Linked DNA regions of Homo sapiens: region 1 is linked to region 2. The links are contacts of gene promoters, found by promoter capture Hi-C in blood cells and fetal thymus (Javierre and others, 2016). All regions are on one chromosome and are shown on one strand. The core of a region is centred on a gene start or on the middle of the fragment in contact, and the rest is flanking DNA. Distances in the headings are between cores, read along the strand shown. Region 1 has its middle 24 kb from the start of EXTL2. Region 2 holds the start of SLC71A1 (solute carrier family 71 member 1).

Region 1 (3,062 bases), core at 39-2,538, 830 kb after region 2:
CCTGAGAATTTATATTTAGCTTATTTTAACTCAACCATGCCGACTTTCTCTGAGACATTATTAAAACACACAGCATATTATATAATATTTCTCTGTGGTGCTTCAGAAATATATATATTCATTCATATGTTCCCTCCCAGAAAATCAAGCTCCATTCTCTATTTCTTCAATATGTGAAAATAGAAAGAGGTATGTGGATGAGAAAAAGAAAATGAATCAAAAATAAACCTTAACCAGGGAAATTTCTGGCTCTTTGATGAGGTTGAGGGTCATAGCATCATGCATCAGATGTTTTATCAGAAATACAAGCACATTTTCCCTTAATGTTCTGTTCCAATAGGCATTGTTATACAGGATAAAACTTTAAAAATGCAACTTTCATTGTGATAAGTAGTGTGATATGATACAAGACTGATGAAATATTCCATAATATAATGCCAAATATATTTTTTCTCAACTTTAGCACTACTGACATTTTGGGACACTTAGTTCTTTGTGGTGAGGGCCTGTCTTGTGCATTGTGGGATGCTTAGCAGCATCTCTGGCCTCGACTCACTAGACGCCAGTAGCAAGCCCTCCATTGTAACAACCAAAAATGTCTCCAGACATTGCCAGATGTCCCCTCGGGGGCAAAATCAGTCCAGGTTAGGACCTACGGCTATAAAGTAAGACTGATTGCTTCAGATATATATATTTTTAAACTACTGAAAATATTCCAATCAAGAATTTGATTCTTTTTCCTTTTAGATAAAAGAAATATTGACATATGAAAAAGAAAAGAGACTTGAGGCCTCTCTAGATTAAATAAATACTTCATTTACATATTCCTTCTGAGCTAGAGCTAAAGTGGGCCCCTTAAATTGCTTTCAGTACTTGCATACTTACTCTCGCTTCTTTTTATACTCTAAGGTATAATTCTGACACAGTTACTACTTCACAACCAAGCTTTCTTTTTAACTGTTGGCCAAGCTGCTGTTTATCAGTGATGGCTTTTACAATATTCTTTAATTTTCCTGCTATTGCAAAGTTCTCTTTACACGTTATGGCCTGTGAATCTTGGGGCAGGTATTTTCATCCCTATTCTTCAGATGAAATTAAGTCAACCCAGGACTCAGTGCATGTTTCTAGGGTACCAAATGGTCTTTTTTTCATCTATGGTAGCTATATATTTGAGTTGTATATTAAGAAGGCTTTCAAGGAGTGGAGGAAAGAAGAATGAGGGAGGGGAAGAAGGAGGGAAGGGAGAAAGTGAACAAAGTTGAAAGCAACTTAGTGGAACAATAAACGATAAAAGCTGGCATGGGATAGAGGATGATATAATCTCACCATTTAAGTCATTGTGGCAACCTTTGAGATTCAGTACCTTCATACTCATCCTCCATCACAGCAATATCCTCCACTCCCTCTCCCACATTCCACTCCCTGTCCCTCCTACCCCCTCAAGTGCATGTATTCTAGCACACACAGATATCCCTTCCTGGCCTCAGGTTCAAAGCCTTAGGTCTTCCCAGAGGAAACAAATGTGGCCATTTCTGTTGCTTCCAAACGGTTTATTGCTGGTACCAGGAAATTTTCATTGTTTATACTCTAAACCTTGGAGTAAAGTTTTTAGAAGCTGTCAAATGCTTCCTGAAGCTTATATTGCCCTCCAGTTTTTTTGATAGTTGATTGCCTGCCTTTTCAGTCTTCTCAACACAGAGTTCTATGAATGAGCAGCCTTTCAAATCCAGCACTATTTGAGTATTTTATATGTAGAAAAAATATATGAAAGAACCTGTTAAATAATACTCAATTTTGGGAAACTGACAGGAAACAGGTGCTCTCAGATGTGGTATGAATAGGCTAGCCATGTCAACACCTCTGGAAGCATTTAGCAGTATGTAGCAAAACCCTAAAAGCACACACACTACTAGATAGACCCAGGTATTGAACTTTGTTGGACTTGATTTTAAAGAAATAATTATAGATATGCTCAAAGATATCTTTTCAAGGCAAAGATACTTATCCAAATGTTTTTATAATGGTAAAAAAGTATAAAATAAAATGGTAGTATGATTGAGTGCATAAATTATGGTTTATTCATATAATAAAATACCAGATAAATCATGCTAGTAAAATATATGCCTAGAAAAGTCTGCAGGAACACATACAAAAATGCCATTGTTAATTGGGGTAGTGGGCTTTTAATTACTTCTTTATACTTTTCTGAATATGCCAAAATTGCCGGAATGAATATATACTGCTTTAATCATAAGAAAAATAGTATTTGACAGAGCGAGACTCCGTCTCAAAAAAAAAGAAAGGAAAAACAGTATTTGAAATAAATAATGAATAGGAGATGAAACTGCCATGGTTCCTTACCCATAGTTAAATGCAAATAATTTCCTGAATGTCTCACCTGGTGGATGCAGGGGCTTCCTAACACCTAGGTGGTGAGTGGAAGGATTAATTCTGTCCTTATTATCAATAACACTGTCATCCCAACAGCTTTCATTTACTGAACATCTAAAATGGGCAAGGCACTGTGCTGTATTTATGCAAGTTATCTCTTTTATTCCTTAAAACAAACTCCAGGCAGATATTATCCTTATTTTGCAGATAAGGAAACTGAGTAAAGAGAAAATGAGGTCTAGCAAGGATTTGAGCCCAAGTATTCTAATGGCAAAGTGTGCACAATTGACCCGCTACGTTGCATTGCTTCTCTTACAAAGTTTTAAGCCTGAGCATCTCTTCTCCAGATCATTTGAGGCAAGAATAAGAGGCGTTCAGGGAAAGACAGCTTTAATAGGAGTCTATCTACAATGCAAGAGTCTTTGTAATGTAGACTGAACTGCACTTTGGTTTCATATTATTTGCTCTATAATATCTGAAACCATGATATGATTAACTTATGTGATGCTTAAGACAAGTTTAAAGACACAAGATGGGAAATAAAATTTGGGAATATTTTTTCATGGGTAATGTGGCTAATGTCTCTACCTTATTCTCAGCAACATATTAGAGTATCATATCTAGAAATGTGTAAGAACACCAATCACAAAAACATGAGTCTGCTTAGTTAA
Region 2 (2,702 bases), core at 25-2,524:
TGAGTCAGGATTCCAGGAGTGGCTAAGCTAGGTGGTCCTACCTCTGGGTCTCTCATGAAGTTGTAGTCAGCCAAAGGCTTGACCAAGGTTGGAGGATCTACTTCCAAAGTGACTCACTCCGTGGCATTTGGTAGGAGGCTACAAACAGTTCCTGGACAACTGGATCTCTCCATAGGCTGCTTGAGTGTCCTGAAAACACGGAAGCAGGCTTCCCCAGGCTCCAAGCCCCAAAATGAATGAAAAAGAGACCCGCAAAGGAAGATGCAGTGCCTTTTATGACCTAGCCTCTGAAGTCAATACTGTCACTTCTGTTTTGATCTATCAAGAGTCACTAAGCCTAGTCTACACTCAAGGGGAGGGGAATTAGAGTCCACCTCTTCCAGGGAGGAATATCATTGAATCTGTGAACATATCTTAGAACTACCATACCTAGTTTCAGTACTTTTAAACATTCGCCATTTTGCTTTGTCCCTCTCTTTTCCCCACCTACATATACATACACATACATGTTACTCCCTAACCATCTGAGAGTAGGGAGCATGCGGTGTATCCCTATCCCTCGTGTTTTTCTCTTAAGGAAAAGGATATTCTATTATACAACACGGTAGTTATCAATATCTAATTTTAACATTGTGATACTTTAAAGTCCACTTCCACTTGTGTAAATTGCCCTTTCTAGCAATGTTCCCATCAAATTTATTTTTAAACAATACAGTAAAAACGTAGAGGGCCACAAAGGGTGACATCGGTCAGGTAAGGTATTTTTTTTGGCAGGGAATAAAAAAGGTCCTGGGTCTAGGGAGGTAAACAAGCGTGAGCCAGCTGAGTTCTAGCGGGGGTCCCTGAACACCAAAAGGACAAGACTGTTTCTGAAACACTACATTATCTCTTAAGTTACCCATTACTTACGGAAAATGATTTTTTACTGTTCCCTTCGGTTCCTGTCTTGGTTAGAACACAGCTGGAGATTGTGTTAATAGCTTAGGACGTCTGTTTCCGTGAGCAGGTAACAACTTTTTGAAACAAATTCCCTCATCTGCTGAAGAAGGGGGACAAAAACGGCCCCTATCGCCCAGAACCGTTGCGAGGATTTAGCTAGCTGGTGACGCCGGAGCACGAAGTTGTACAGGTAGCCAGCAGCACCCACGCGAGCCCGCGGTTACCCTGGCCGCGCGGCTACTGTAGAGTGGGCTGGCGGCGAGCGGGCGGGGCGGTATCACGCGGGAGGGGCGGGGCCCGCTCGTCGGCTGATCGCACGATTGTGACGCGCCGCCGGAGGCAGGCCGGGCCCTCAAGATGGCGGCGGGCGCCCAGAGCGGCTCGGCCCGGCAGTAGTGGTGGGACGGCACTAGCTGCTGGGGCCTGCCGCCCCGGGAGTGGCTGCAGCAGCGCCAGGAATCGAGGATGGTAAAATGACCCAGGGGAAGAAGAAGAAACGGGCCGCGAACCGCAGTATCATGCTGGCCAAGAAGATCATCATTAAGGACGGAGGCACGGTGAGCTGAGTTCCGCGCCGGCGAGCGTCCCTCGGGGCCCCCATCCGGTCTCTCCTTCAGACCCCCACACTGCCGTCTCTAGGCGTCCCGGTGCCTCCCTCCCTTCCCCCACCCTGTCCGAGCTGCCGGTGCCTCGGGGTCGCGGACCCGCATGCCGCCGCTCCGGGAATCGTCCTCCGCTGCTCGGGCTTGCGGCCTCCGGGGCCCGTCCTCTTTCTTTCCCGCACCTGCCGCCCTCTGCTCTGGCCGCCTCTGCAGGCCCTGCGGCCTCGAACCCCACGTGCGCCTCCGCCGCGGGGAGGAATGTGCGGGGCTCCCCCGGCGGCCCGCCCGCCGCGCCCCTCGTCGCCGCAGCCTCGCCTCGCCTTCGCCGCCAGGCCCCGCGGAGCCGTCGCCGCGCTTGTCAAGGGGCTGGGAACCATCCCTGCTCTCCCATATGTTGCTAACGGGGTGGCGTCTGGCGCGGGGATCCCGCTGCGGCCCCGTAGTACGTTCGCTTTCTGTTTCCACGTCTCTCTGCGTCGGTGCTCCGGCTCTGGGCTGCTTACAGTAAACCCTGACCGGAGATGGGCTTCCCTCACTTCCCGGAGTCGGAAGCATGACGGCAGACACCTGGGGCCTACATTCGAACCTGCTAGTTTTCAAAGAAAAGTCATCACTGTGTGTCTTAAGATCAAAAGTATTAGAATCAGTCATGGCCTAAGGATCGGAGGAGGACACTTTGAAGGGAAGAAAGGTTTGCTTTTTAGAAACAGTTGTCATCACAGTAAACTTTATGCAGTGTGTAGTTAACCAGCTGGGGACGTAGGATTTTTAATTGAAAAACAAAACAAAACAAAACTGTTTTATGCTAACATTTCTCCGTTGCTACACTGTGTGGTCTTTGTTGCATCCGCTGATACCGCGTTCTGAAATAGAATGGAAAGGTGATATATATGTTTCACTTACCTGAAGTGTGCAGAAATTGTACCATTAATTCCATTTCTGTTTATATCTTATTGGAGCCGCGATCAACTGCTAGCACAGTAGTAAATGTGTAAGTAGGCCACCATTGAGGATTTGCTGAATTCAGTTGAAAAACGTGACAAAATTTTATGACATTTCAGAACACGGCCCAGTCAATATGCCAAAGTTTAGAAAACTTGAGACATATGTAATGACTTTGGAATATATTTTTAGTTTAACGTTTATTATATGTTATAGCTT

What was found. Contacts are between HindIII fragments. The CHiCAGO score rates a contact against its expected background, and 5 or more counts as called.
Region 1: a contact is called between a fragment that was not itself captured here and the fragment with the promoter of SLC71A1 in region 2, in 8 of 17 cell types (activated CD4 T cells, non-activated CD4 T cells, megakaryocytes and 5 more). The highest score is 6.8, in activated CD4 T cells.

The regions. Positions count from the first base shown.
Region 1 is chr1:100,869,314-100,872,375 of GRCh38, forward strand. It overlaps a transcript of EXTL2 not described here. Among named protein-coding and RNA genes, the nearest start is that of EXTL2, 24 kb to the right of the region's middle. The HindIII fragment of the contact is 690 bases long and covers 944-1,633 here.
Region 2 is chr1:100,036,821-100,039,522 of GRCh38, forward strand. It overlaps SLC71A1 (solute carrier family 71 member 1), which reads left to right and starts at 1,275. Exons shown (of 12, transcript NM_033055.3): 1 at 1,275-1,496. The coding sequence starts at 1,413. LOC124904230 (a long non-coding RNA gene) reads right to left here and starts at 1,188. Exons shown (of 7, transcript XR_007066251.1): 1 at 910-1,188. RefSeq lists enhancers at 747-1,349, 1,312-1,591 and silencers at 1,072-1,251, 1,712-1,901. The HindIII fragment of the contact is 6,938 bases long and covers 1-2,702 here.